Regions from separate parts of the Homo sapiens genome. Here region 1 is linked to region 2. The links are contacts of gene promoters, found by promoter capture Hi-C in blood cells and fetal thymus (Javierre and others, 2016). All regions are on one chromosome and are shown on one strand. Each heading gives the region's core, a stretch centred on a gene start or on the middle of the fragment in contact. The rest is flanking DNA. Distances are from core to core; before and after follow the strand shown.

Region 1 (7,949 bases), core at 5,252-7,751, 2.6 Mb before region 2:
CGAATGTCTCTCCTCTTAGTATTCTTCCATCCACTGACTCCCTTATTCTACTTGTTAGCCATAAAACTCCAGCTGTGTTTGCTATATTCACAGTTGAGTTCAGTCTCTCTGGCCTTTGCAATGGTCTCTCCTCTACCACAATAACTTTCCATTTTTAACAAGTGTTAGCATATTTTTTTCTTTTACAACACACACAGCACCCTTCTTCTAAGTAGTGTGGTGTGTTGGCTAGCAGCATGGGACTCTAGAGCCTGATGGCCTTGACTAAATCTCTACTCTATGCCGTCTTTGCTGTGTGACCTTAGGAAAGTTACCCAACTTCTCTAGGCTTCGGTTTCCATGGCTAAAAATATACAGCCTATAAAGGCGCCTGCCTCACAAGGCTGTTGTGATGATTAAGTGAGTTAAAGCATGCATTGGCAAGTCCTCTGTCAGGCTACTGCTATTACAGGGAAATGGGGAGTGTTATTATCTCCATTTTAGCAATGGGGGAGGACACTGAGGCCTGGCAATGAGCCGCGGCTGAGCAGGGATGTAGCCAGGCTGTGCCTGACGTGTGTCTGGCTTCCCTCATCTGCCCTGCCAGGGATGACTTCTTAGAAGCCAGGATCTGGGAAGAGGTAGGAGGCGTGCACATGACCCAGGGAAGCTCAGAAGCAGGTCAGGCCGCCCTGGCAGCATGGGCAGACCCAGGGGAGGTCAGCTAACGAGAAGTCACCCAGCTCTGCTGCCAGGGGACCAAAAGCAAAAGCTGCCCCCTATTGTTGGCCGGGAGGGCGAGTTAGGAGTCTGGGCTAACCCTGCACCAGCCTCCTCTCCTCAACAAATCCCCAACAAAGAAACAAAGAGGAAGTCTGGGAGCTGAGAAGGGGCTGGGGGAGCAGCAGAGCCTGGCAACAAAGAGATTTCCCAAGTCTGGCTTCTCAGGGTTTCCCAAAACTCGGGGTCCCTCCACGGTGGGTCCTTTTGACACATCCCTAGCTGGGGCTGCTGAATTGGGAGTCCCAGGTCCAGAGGGAACAGGTGGTGTCCCTATTGGGAGGAAAATCCTGCATTGAGAGTGACCCCATATAGGGGAGATGTCAAGATGGGGTGGGGTACCTAGGGAAGGGTTTTGTGTCTGGGGTCAGAGTTGCCTGCTGGGGAGTATGGGGCCAGGAGACAGATGACAGTCTGGAGCAGAGGCCCAGGTCCAGAGGGCCAGGAGTCCCAGATGGCGGTGCCAGGTCCTTGCTGAGGAATCTCTGTTGGGAGGGAGGTCTTTAGTGAGGACACCCTGAGAGGTCTGGAGATTTAGGGTCCTCGCTAAGGCGCCAGGGTCAGGAGGAGGTTGAGATGGGGTTTCTCCAGGGGGGTTTCCCAGAAGGACATATCTGGAGGGTCAGGAGACATGGCAAGGGTGGCAGGCCCAGACTAGAGATAAAGTCAGGGGTCCTGGCATGGTTGAGTTCTGGGTCCAGAGGGGGCAAGGATCTCCCTTGGAGGGTGGCGTGTCCTGGGTCCTTGCTGGAGGTCTCTGAGGACAGTCCTAGGCTTAGAGGGGGCTGGACAGACCCGGGTCACCAAGAGGATTAAGACCGGGGAATGCAGTCCCAGTGCAGTGGCTCAAGCCTGTAATGCCAGCAATTTGGGAGGGCGAGGCGGGCTGATCACCTGAAGTCAGGAGTTTGGGACCAGCCTGGCCAACATGGTGAAACTCCGTCTCCACTGAAAATACAAAAATTAGCCAGGCATGGTGGTATGTGCCTGTAATCCCAGCTACTCGGCAGGCTGAAGCAGGAGAATAGCTTGAAACCGGGAGGCGGAGGCTGCCGTGATCCGAGATCGTGCCACTGCACTCCAGCCTGGGCGACAGAGTAAGCCCTGTCTCAAAAAAAGAAAAAGAAAAGAAAAAAAAAAAAGACCGAGGAACGGGGTCCCAGCTGGTCTCTGCAAAGGTACTCTGAGGGGAGCTGGGTGTTTCCTACTTAGGAGGAAGGGCTCGGACTTGGGCTCCCCGAGCAGAGCAGATATCATGAGCCTGGGTCCCGGGTCCTCACTGGGGTCTTTTCGGGGGATCCGAAGCCCAGAGGGGATTGGGATAAGGGTATTCGTGAGGGCCCCGGGGTCCCCAGGGGTTAAGGATGAAGTGGGGATCCCGGGTCCTCGCCGCCTTGCGGTGAGGCGCTTACGTACCCACGGTGGTGATCAGCGTGCTGGCGAAGAAGAGAGCAGAGGCGAAGTCCCAGGCGGGGTCCGAGGCGTTGGCGGACCCCGAAGCGTTAGCAAGCACGACCCGCCCCAGCCGTCCGGCCGCCAGCACTCGCTCCACGAAGGCGTCCAGGGCGGGGGCAGCCACACACGGGCTGCGCTGAAGCAGCTGCGCCCGCAGCGTCTCCAGCTCGGCTCGGAGCCTGGCTTCGTGCGGCCCCTCCAGCCGCGCCACCAACAGCGCGCCCAGCACCAGGTACGCGGCGTACGCGGCCAAGGCGCCCGCCAGAAGCGCGCCCCTCCGCATGGCACCCACCGGGACCCCGCGAGCCCTGGGTGGCCCCGCTGACGTGGCCCCCGCCTCCGGACCGTCTGGCACCTAGTTCCAGTTCCGGGAGTGCTACAGGCGCGGCAGCAGATGCCCCAAGAGGAAGAGGAAAAAGGGGAGGTGGGGGGCGGCGACGGAGGAATGCCCCGCCTCCGGGAAACTGAGGCACGCCCAACCGCCAGGTGTTCGTTCGGAGAGGGTGGAGCCCAGTGCTCCCAGACCCAGCAGACCAACGGGATGGAAAGGGTGGAGGTAGTCCTCTCTTCCCCTCATTCCTTCCTTCTCGTCCTCCTGGAAGGCTGGTTCTCTATGTTAGAAGAATCTGAACTTTCCTCTCTGCTCGCAGGCCGAGGAGTCGCCCCCCATCGCGCACAGCAGCTAAGGTTGTGCACTGCATCAGGGCGCGCGGCTGACGGAGCAAGGGGCAAACTGAAATCCAATTCTCGCTCCATTCGCCAAGTTGTGAGCCTCGGAGTGGGAACAGCGGACACCACAGAGTCAGGTGTCCCCTGTGCCCGTGTGGACAGAGTGGGGATCCTCAGCTACTCACCAAAGCTTTGTTCAATGCCCACTTTCTGCTGACCCCTCGCTGGATGATCCTGGAGACTCAGTAATGATGAGACCATCCTGCGCCATGCATTCATGGGGCTCCCAGTCTAACTGGGAGACTGACACAAGAGTGACCCACGCCTGTTGTCCCAGCTACTCGGGAGGCTGAGGTCGGAGGATTGCTTGAGCCCAGGAGTTCGAGGCTGCAGTGAGCTATGCCTGGGAGAGAGTGAGACCCTATCTCTAAAAAAAAGAAAAAAGACAGCCCAGAGTGGTCAGGGCTGTGATGAGGGAAGCAAGGGTACAATGATCAAGCCTGGAATCAGGGAGCCCTAGAGGGCCCTGGGAGTCCAGAGGAAGCAACCACCCCTGCCTAGGGAGGTCAAGAGAGCTTCCTGAGGAAGGGGCTAGCTGAGCTGAAGCATGAAGGATGAATGGAAACAAGCCAGGCAGAATCACAAATACACGCCTCTATTTAAGAGGAAATTTTTCTTTCTGCGCCCCCCCGTAAGTCTCTCCACTTCTGCCTCCAGCCAGAACTCAGCGCCTTCCTGACAGCCTTTTGGAGGGCAGCCCAGAGTCCTAACCCCATCCGACTGGCAGAGGAGTGGGGCTTGGGGCTCAGCTCAGACATGTCCCAGCTGGTTCTATTAAAGAGCTGGCAGATCACCGGGCAGAGCCCAACTTGGGGTTGACAATCCAGAAGCAGAGGCACCTGATAATAGAATCAGTAACACAATAGGTGCCAGTGATCGAAGGCTTACATTCTGCCAGGCCCTGTGGACACCTGAACTTGCACTGAATTCTCAACCCCGTCCCAATATAATTCCCACTAAACAGATGAGAAAATTTAGGCTTAAAAATGAAGTAGTCATTTGAGACCAGCTCGGGCAACATGGCAAAACCCCATCTCGACAAAAAATACAAAAATTAGCCAAGTGTGGTGGCATGCGTCTGTAGTCCCAGCTACTCGGGAGGCTGAGGCAGGAGGATCGTTTGAGCTCAGGAATTAGAGACTGCAATGAGTTATGGTCGCACCACTGCACTCCAGTATGGGTGATAGAGTAGACCCTGCCTCAAAAAAATAAAAAGTAGTAGTCACACAACTGGTAAGGGGTGAACATGAGGCCAGCAGGAAGCCAATGAACTAATGAACTTGCTTTTTTTTTTTTTTTTTTTTTTTTTTTGAGACAAGAGTCTCGCTCTGTCTCCCAGGCTGGAGTGCAATGGCACAATCTCGGCTCGCTGCAACCTCTGCCTCCTGGGTTCAAGCAATTCTCCTGCCTCAGCCTCCTAAGTAGCTGGAATTATAGATGCCCGCCACAACACCCAGCTAATTTTTGTATTTTAAGTAGAGACAGGGTTTCGCCATGTTGGCAAGGATGGTCTCAAACTGACCTCAGGTGATCTGCCCGCCTTGGCCTCCCAAAGTGCTGGGATTACAGGCGTGATCCGCTGCACTTGGCAGTACTTGCTTTATTAATTAAATATATATACATAAGGCTGGGTGCGGTGTTTCATGCCTGTAATCTCAGTGCTTTGGGAGGCCAAGGCAGGTGGATCACCTGAGGTCAGGAGTTCGAGACCAGCCTGGCCAACATGGCGAAACCCTGTCTCTACTAAAAATACAAAAAATTAGCCAGGTGCGATGGCACACGCCTGTAATCTCAGCTATCGGGAGGCTGAAGCAGGAGAATCACTTGAACCCAGGAGGCAAAGGTTGCAGTGAGCCGAGATCGCATCACTGCACTCCAGCCTGGGCGACAGAGCAAGACTCCATCTCAAAAAACAAACAAAAAAGCAATAAGAAAAAAAAAAACATTTATGGAAGAGATGTATCTGGAGCAACCAGAGCAAGAGAGGGCTGAGGATGAGGAGAAAATGGTGTTGGAGCCCAGGGGACAGAGGCTAAATCAGAGGTGAAGAAGAATGCGGGCATTTCGCTCACAAAAAGGAACCACAGTGGAGCCAGCACTCATCACTGAGAAACCAGGAGCAGCCCTTAAGGTCTCCAAAAAGACAACGTCTCAGAGGAGGAAGAGGAAGCCACAGCGATAGGGTCACTTGCTGACATCCTTCCGGATGCGCTATCGCTGCGCAGAAGTAACTTCCACCACTATGTTTTCCTGAGATAAGTCGGGGAGTCTGAGAGGGAGAGAAGGGGGGAGACTGAGAGTCAGAGAGAGGAGAGACTAAGGACGCTAGGTGGGCAGGGCTCTTCACTTGCAGGTGCGCCTGTGTGCTGTGAGTTGCTGGGGGTTGTAGAATGCTTTTGGTGGACAGAGGGAACCAGGTTGCAATGTGAGAACATTTTTATGAATTTCTGGGAAACTGCCTTAAGATCTATTCCAAGAGAGACACCTGGTTCTTCTCACCTAACTTGTTGGGTTTCCTTTTCTCACTCTAAATATTCACTTTAAGGCCGGGCACTGTGGCTCATGTCTGTAATCCTAATGCTTTAGGAGGCTGAAGCAGGAGGATGGCTTGAGCCCAGGAATTCGAGACCAGCCTGGGCAACATAGCAAGATCCTGTTTTGACAAAAAATTTAAAAATTAGCTGGGCATGGTGGTGCATGCCTGTGGTGCCAGTTACTGGGGAGGCTGAGGCAGGAGGATCACTTGAGCTCAGGGGGTCCGAGGCAGCCTGGAAAACAGAGGAAGACCCTGTCTCAAAATAAATAAATATTTACTTTAATACCTAAGGGATGTCAAAAATTGTATAAGCCCCTACAACTCCAATTAGCCCCTCAGGAACACAAATGTTTCTCTTTTCCTTGCTCCACAGCCTTTTCTGGCTCTCCAGTGCTCTCAATGACCCAAACTGAACGGCTGTCTGCAGAGAACTGCATTTCCCATCGACCTTTTCGCTCGATATTTACATTTTAAAAAATGTTTTGTAGCGATGGAGATCTCGCTGTTGCCCAGGCTGGTCTCGAACTCCTGGGCTCAAGCGATCCTCAGCCTTCCAAAGTGCTGAGATTACAGGCGTTAAGCCACTGAGCCTGGCTAAATTAAAAAAAAAAAAAATTGTAGGGATGGGGCGGGGCGAGGGTCACTATGTTGCTCAGGCTAGTCTCGAATCCCTGGGCTGAAGCAATCCTCCCGCCTCGGCCTCCCAAAGTGCTGGAGTTAGGGGCGTGAGCCCCGGCAAGGGGCAGACACTCATTTTCTGTCGTGGCAGACACCGCCTCCTCCTGGGATTGGTCCCGGCCTCGCCCTCCTGCCACTCAGGCCTTGACTCGCTTTACTGCATGAGCCCAGTAGCCCAGTCTCCGCCTCTTACGTAAGGCACCGCCCAGTCGTCCAGGCCTCCGTGAAGGGGGGGGCTGGAGGGGTCGGGGGGGTGGGGGCGAGGCCTTCCCTCAATCCTGACGTCCATTGGCTGTCTCTTCGCCGGCGGGGCGTGGGTACGGGAGCCGGGCGGGCACGCTCCGAACCGCGGCTTAGGTGGCGGCGGCGAAGGATGCACCCGGCAGGCTTGGCGGCGGCGGCTGCGGGGACGCCCCGGCTGCGTAAGTGGCGTACGTGGCCGGCGGAGGAGATCGGGCGGGCGGGGGCGTGGCGGGGCGGCCGCGTCGGTTGGCGAGGTCACTGCAGGTCAGAGGTCACGAGATCAAGGATCTGGAACCCTGAGGTGTGCACAGCGCTGGGATGCCAGGTTCGGGTAGGAGGCCCCTTGGGGGGCGATTCTTTAGGAAATTCCTTTAGAAGAAAACAACTTGGGACTGGATAGCGTGCGATATGCAGAGAAATGCAACTTTCATTCATTTGCAGTTAGCGATCCGCCCTTCCCTGCTCCCCACCCTTCCGTGGCTCCCCAGTACCCGCCTGCTGTCGCCCACACCCTTAGGACAGCTTCGTGGCCCCCCGGGAGCGCAGAGGGCCATGCCTACCGCTCATTTAAGAAGCGAACCTGTATTGTGCTGTTGGCCCCCTTTTCCTGTCTCTTCATCTCCGTGAGTGTGCTGTGTGTTTCATTTATTCATTCAACCTAACTTGTCTCAACTCCCATGTGTCAGGCCCTGTGTTGGGATGGAGATGTTGTGGGAGCCCTGAGGAGGCACATGACCCAGCCTAGGGGTGTCAGTGAAGCTTCCTGGAAGAGGATACTTCTTTTTCTTTTTTTTTTTTTTTTGAGACCTAGTTTTGTTCTTGTTGCCAAGGCTGGAGTGCAATGGCGCGATCTCAGGTCACCGCAACCTCCGCCTCCCGGGTTCAAGCGATTCTCCTGCCTCAGCCTCCCAAGTAGCTGGGATTACAGGCGCAGGCCACCACGCCCGGGGTGGTATAGACGGGGTTTCTCCATGTTGGTCAAGCTGGTCTCAAACTCCCGACCTCAGGTGATCCGCCCGCCTAGGCCTCCCAAAGTGCTGGGATTACAGGCGTGAGCCACCGCACCCGGCATGGAAGAGGATAATTCTGATCATGAAAAGTTACCCAGGAGAAGGAGATTTGTAGTGAGAGGGCAGGCTGGGCGTGCTGGCCTACACCTATAATCTCAGCACTTTGGGAGGTCGAGGTGGGCGAATCACTTGGGGCCAGGAGTTGGAGACCAGCTTGGGTAACAGCAAAATCCTATCTCTAATAAAAGTACACAAAATTAGCCGGGTGTGGTGGCGAGCACCTGTAATCCCGGCTACTTGGGAGTCTGAGGCTTGAGAATCACTTGAACCCAGGAGGCAGAGGTTGCACTGAGGCGAGATTGCACCAGCCTGGGCGACAGAGCAAGACTTCGCCTCAAAAAAAAAAAAAAAAAAAAAAAAAGAGGGTGATCCACCTGCCTTGGCCTCCCAAAGTGCTGGGATCACAGGCATGAGTCACGGTGCCCAGCCAACCAGCCTGGCCAACATGATGAAACCCCATCTCTACTAAAAATGCAAAA
Region 2 (5,245 bases), core at 1,472-3,971:
CACGGGGACCGGTGCTCCCGGCTTCACAACAAGCCGACATTCAGCCAGGTGAGACCCGGCACGGAGCCTCGGGGGTTAACGGCTCCCTGGCCCTTCCCCTTCTGGGGCCGTCGTCACCATGTCCCGCCTATTCCGGGTTCCTGAGTCCCTCCCCACCGCCCGGCTTTTTTTCTCATTGGACCTTTCTGCAGGCTCCTCCCACCGGTCTTCGTGCCGTTTTCCCGGGAACTTGGTCGCGCCCCCATGCGTACAGGCTACACACGGCGGCTGTTCATCTTTGCCAGTCCCTTCCATCCCGCTGTTCATCCTTGCCAGTCCCCTCCATCCCTTTTCTGGTTTCTTAGGGGCAAAGGATCGCCGATGCACTCATGATGCTTAGGCTGGGGTGTAAGGTTCCACCCCCAACCTTCATGCCTCACTCTCTGTTCATGCAGCCCTGCCCTCTGAGCTCAGGCCCCGCCCCTTTTAAATTCTGTGCAGACCATAGTGCTGCTCAACCTGTACCGGAATCCACAGAACACAGCCCAAACTGCAGACGGATCACACTGTGAGTAAGGGACCAGGCCTGGGGGCAAGGTGAACAGCCCCCAGTAGGCTACACTCTGATTCCACCCTGCCCGCCCCCACCCCAGGTCATGTGAGTGACGTGGAGGTGCAGGAGCACTATGATAGCTTCTTCGAGGTGAGGGTTGGTAGGGGCAGATGGGGTTTCTTGTGGGAGCTCAGCTGAGTTCCTCCCCGTCTTCCACAGGAGGTGTTCACAGAACTGCAGGAGAAGTATGGGGAGATTGAAGAGATGAATGTGTGCGACAACCTTGGGGACCACCTCGTGGGCAACGTCTATGTCAAGGTGCTTGCTGCCCCCCACTTAGGGCCCAGAAGTGGAGGCGTTTCAATGCCTGATGGTGGCCACTGTAGGCTCTCAGCTTGAATTTCATCACTAAATCCAGTCCAGCCCCAGAGCGGGTAGTGAGTCCCCTGAAGATCTCTGAGTTCTCCTGCTGACCCTGACTGACATTTCCTGCAGTTCCGGAGGGAGGAGGATGGAGAGCGGGCCGTGGCTGAACTCAGTAACCGCTGGTTCAACGGGCAGGCTGTGCACGGTGAGCTGTCTCCTGTCACTGACTTCCGGGAGTCATGCTGTCGCCAGTATGAGATGGGGTATGGTAGTTCAAGGGTGGGATGGGCACTTGGAATCCCAGACTTTGAATGCGTGGTAGGGGCTGTCAGTGACAATGGCTTCCTCCATCTCTCTACCCTCTATGCAGGGAATGTACCCGAGGTGGCTTCTGCAACTTCATGCATCTGCGGCCCATTTCCCAGAACCTCCAGAGGCAGCTCTATGGGCGGGGACCCAGGCGCAGGTACCTCAGGACCAGCCTGCTATGTCTCCTCATGTCCTAAGGCCCCTATATCCTCAGATGAGCCTAACCCTAAGCCCCAGTAACCACGTTCCCAAGAATCTTTTTTTTTTTTTTTTTTTTTTGAGATGGAGCCTCACTCTGTTGCCCAGGCTGGAGTGCATTGGCACCATCTTGGTTCATGGCAACTTCCGCCTCCCGGGTTCAAGCAATTCTCTGCCTCAGCCTCCCAAATAGCTGGGATTACAGGCACCTGCCACCATGCCCGGCTAATTTTTGTGTTTTTAGTAGAGATGGGGTTTCACCATCTTGGCCAGGCTGGTCTGAACTCCTAACCTCGTGATCCACCTGCCTCACCCTCCCAAAGTGCTGGGATTACAGGCGTGAGCCACCACTCCCGGCTGACTGTTTTTTTTTTTTTTTTTTTTTTTTTTTTTTGAGACGGAGTTTTGCTCTTCTTCCGCAGGCTGGAGTGCAAAGGCGCAGTCTTGGCTCAGTGCAACCTCTGCCTCCCAGGTTCAAGCAATTCTCCTTTCTCAGCCTCCCAAGTAGCTGGGATTATAGGCACCTGCCACCATGCCTGGCTAATTTTTGTATTTTTAGTAGAGATGGGGTTTCACCACGTTGGCCAGCCTGGTCTCGAACTCCGGACCTCAGGTAATCCACCCATCTCGGCCTCCCAAAGTGTGGGGATTACAGGCGTGAACCACTGCGCCCGGTCATTCCCAAGACTCTTATACCCTAAGAGTAGTTCTGAGCTCCATCTGGAGACCAGTACCTAAGTCCCAATCCCCAAACCAGCCTGAACCCCTAATCCACGACCAGCCTGGATTGCCACCCCTGATACTGGCCACTGAGTTCCCCTGATACTGGCCACTGAGGTCGTGTCTTAGAACTCTAGTTATTTCAGCACCCTCCTGCCTCATCCCAGAGCAGAGAGGCAGGCCTGCAGGATCTCTGCACCACTCCTCAGGGTTCTAACAGAACTCTCAACGCTCCTATTCCCAGGTCACCCCCGAGGTTCCATACTGGCCACCATCCCCGAGAGAGGAACCATCGGTGTTCCCCTGATCACTGGCATGGCCGCTTCTGAGGCCCTGGCCCCCTTACCCTTCACCCCCAACAGGGACAGATGTTCCTGGCAGGACCTCTCCTCAAAGCCCCCTTCACTCTCCTGCCCCATCCTTCCCAGGCTCCCGGGCTCCATAATGTAATCTGTTCAGCATGGAGACCTTCTTCTACCGCCCCTGTCTTAATAAAGCTGCGTGTTTCACTTCGGCATCAACTTGCTTTTGCTGTGGTTTGGCATTTCCCTCCACCCACACATGTGACGAAAAGGGGAAACAAGACTGGGTCCTGGCCACAACTTCAGCTGAGGAACTTGGCACGGCCAGCTTGGGACCCAGGACCCTAACGGTACTGGTAGGGTGGGGACACCTTTGTGCTGAAAACCTTAGCACCTCCATCTGAGGCTTATTCAAGGGGGAGAGACCTGGTTGTGGCAGGTGGGAGGAGCCCTAGCCCCAAGGAGATTAGGATTCAAAGGTGAGGTGAGGTGCTGGGAGGTGGTCTCCAGCCAGTATGGGGCTGACTCCTCCGTGCCTGCCGAATTGTGATGGGAGTTAGTAATGCCTTACACTTAAACACTGAGTTTACTGTATGTGAGGTGCTGTTTTCAGCACTTTAGTTTGTTTTTGTTTTTTTTAAGGAGTTTCATTCCTGTTGCCCAGGCTGGAGTGCAATGGCACGATCTCAGCTCACTGCAGCCTCCACTTCCCAGGTTCAAGCAATTCTGCCTCAGCCTCCCAAGTAGCTGGGATTTACAGGCATGCGCTACCACGCCCGGCTAATTTTGTATTTTTAATAGAGACAGGGTTTCACCATGTAGGCCAGGCTGGTTTTGAACTACTGACCTCAGGTGATCCACCCACCTGGGCCTCCCAAAGTGTTGGGATTACAGGCATGAGCCACTGCGCCCGGCGGCCAGTTTTTTTTGTTTTTAGAGATGAGGTCTTGCTGTGTTGCCCAGGCTGGTCTGTAATTCATGGCTCAAGCAATCCTCCTACCTTGGCCTCCCTAGTAGCAGGGACTACAGACGTGAGCCACTGCACTTGGCAAAGTGCTTTGCTGTTTTTTTTTTTTTTTTTTTTTTTTGTAAAGATGGGGTTTCATTTTGTTGTCCAGGCTGATCTCTCGAACTCCTGGGCTCAAGTGATCCTCCTGTCTTGGCCTCCCAAAGTGTTGGGATTACAGGCATGAGCCACCACACCCAGCCCCTGCTTTACTTCTAATGACGGTTCTAATTCTCCACAATAACCCTATGAGACAGGTGCTATCATTGTCTTATTTTAGGGATGGAAAAGGGAGGGTGGGTGGGTGAGGACACGGCAGAGGTGGGATATGCATTCTTGCAATCTAGATCCGCAGCCCTGTTAGTCCCCTAGTGGCCTTGTGGGCTTCTCTGATAACCGGCTCAGTTGGGGGATGAGGGCTCGGGGGTAGATTCCCGGCTTCCGAAGAGGCGTGAGAATTCTGTTCCCCCACATCACCGCGTCCTTTCTTCTGCCCGATTTCCCCGGAAAGTGTAGCAGAGGCGCTGTGTTTGGAAGTCCCGCTATCACGGCCCCCCAGATGGGGCCTGGACGATGCCTCCTGACGGCCTTGTTGCTTCTGGCCCTGGCGCCACCGCCGGAAGCCTCCCAGTACTGCGGCCGCCTTGAATACTGGAACCCAGACAACAAGTGCTGCAGCAGCTGCCTGCAACGCTTCGGGCCGCCCCCCTGCCCGGGTGAGAATCCGAGACCGAGCCTTGCTTGGGCGGAGCTTGCAGGTGATAGGGAGCGGGGAAGGGGCGAGGTCTGTGGGCTACGGGCCAGAGAGGCTTGCTTAGGGGTCTAAGCGGTGGGCCTTATGCAGATCAGACAGGGATGGCAGGCAGAGCCTGTGCAGATAGTGCGGGCTACCGTAGGGCAACAGCGAATGGATATGGCTGGAGAGGCGGGATAGGGGCCGCGTGGAAAGGGTGGGCTTTATGTAGAGAAGCCGGGAGTGGGCGGAGCTTCGTGCGGAGCAGGCTGGAGGGGGGTGAAAAGGCGAGCCCGGAGAAAAGTGACAAGACCGGGGCGCACGCTAATAGGCTGGAAGCGTCCTGGAGGGGCGGGGCACGCTGGGATAGGGCGAAGGGAGAGGGCGTTGCCCGCGCAGGGGCGGGCTAGGCGGCCGCACTGGAGCGCAGCTTTCCCGCTAGACTATGAGTTCCGGGAAAACTGCGGACTCAATGACCACGGCGATTTCGTAACGCCCCCGTTCCGAAAGTGTTCTTCTGGGCAGTGCAACCCCGACGGCGCGGAGCTATGTAGCCCCTGCGGCGGCGGAGCCGTGACCCCTACTCCCGCCGCGGGCGGGGGCAGAACCCCGTGGCGCTGCAGAGAGGTGCAGATGGGACTCCCGGCAGGGCAAGGGCGTGCTGGAGGTGGGGGGCCTAGATGTAGGGAGCCGGCGTAGCCCCACGTAAGGGGTGGGGCCGTGGTTTCAGGAGGTGGCTGGCCTGCAGGGGTCGGGAGGTCCTAGGTTAAGGTAGTTGGGCCTTGCGGGGCCCAACTACCTTATCAGATACCGTATCAGATGGGATGTGGCCCCATTAAAGGATATAAAGTTGGGAGGTTTGGGAGCGGGCAGGAGTGGAGTGTGGCCTCCAGCTTTACTCCAACCCCTTATCCCCAGAGGCCGGTCCCTGCCAAGGGGCACTGCCCCCTCACACCTGGAAACCCAGGCGCCCCTAGCTCCCAGGAGCGCAGCTCACCAGCAAGTTCCATTGCCTGGAGGACCCCTGAGCCTGTCCCTCAGCAGGCCTGGCCGAATTTCCTTCCGCTCGTGGTGCTGGT

Evidence for each region. Contacts are between HindIII fragments. The CHiCAGO score rates a contact against its expected background, and 5 or more counts as called.
Region 1: the fragment with the promoter of YIF1B here is called in contact with the fragment with the promoter of IGFLR1 in region 2 in 1 of 17 cell types (fetal thymus); the score reaches 7.2 in fetal thymus.

Annotation. Positions count from the first base shown.
Region 1 is chr19:38,314,499-38,322,447 of GRCh38, reverse strand. It overlaps YIF1B (Yip1 interacting factor homolog B, membrane trafficking protein), which reads left to right and starts at 6,501. Exons shown (of 8, transcript NM_001039672.3): 1 at 6,501-6,588. The coding sequence starts at 6,531. KCNK6 (potassium two pore domain channel subfamily K member 6) reads right to left here and starts at 2,603. Exons shown (of 3, transcript NM_004823.3): 1 at 2,176-2,603. The coding sequence starts at 2,497. RefSeq lists silencers at 2,421-2,510, 6,177-6,666 and an enhancer at 2,152-2,775. The HindIII fragment of the contact is 4,086 bases long and covers 3,076-7,161 here.
Region 2 is chr19:35,739,928-35,745,172 of GRCh38, reverse strand. It overlaps IGFLR1 (IGF like family receptor 1), which reads left to right and starts at 2,721. Exons shown (of 5, transcript NM_024660.4): 1 at 2,721-2,777; 2 at 3,950-4,149; 3 at 4,609-4,793; 4 at 5,085-5,245. The coding sequence starts at 3,993. U2AF1L4 (U2 small nuclear RNA auxiliary factor 1 like 4) reads left to right here. Exons shown (of 6, transcript NM_001040425.3): 2 at 1-48; 3 at 752-850; 4 at 1,028-1,161; 5 at 1,269-1,364; 6 at 2,370-2,646. The coding sequence ends at 2,454. RefSeq lists silencers at 1,043-1,203, 4,506-4,635 and enhancers at 2,539-2,968, 4,316-4,425, 4,773-5,245. The HindIII fragment of the contact is 10,043 bases long and covers 1-5,245 here.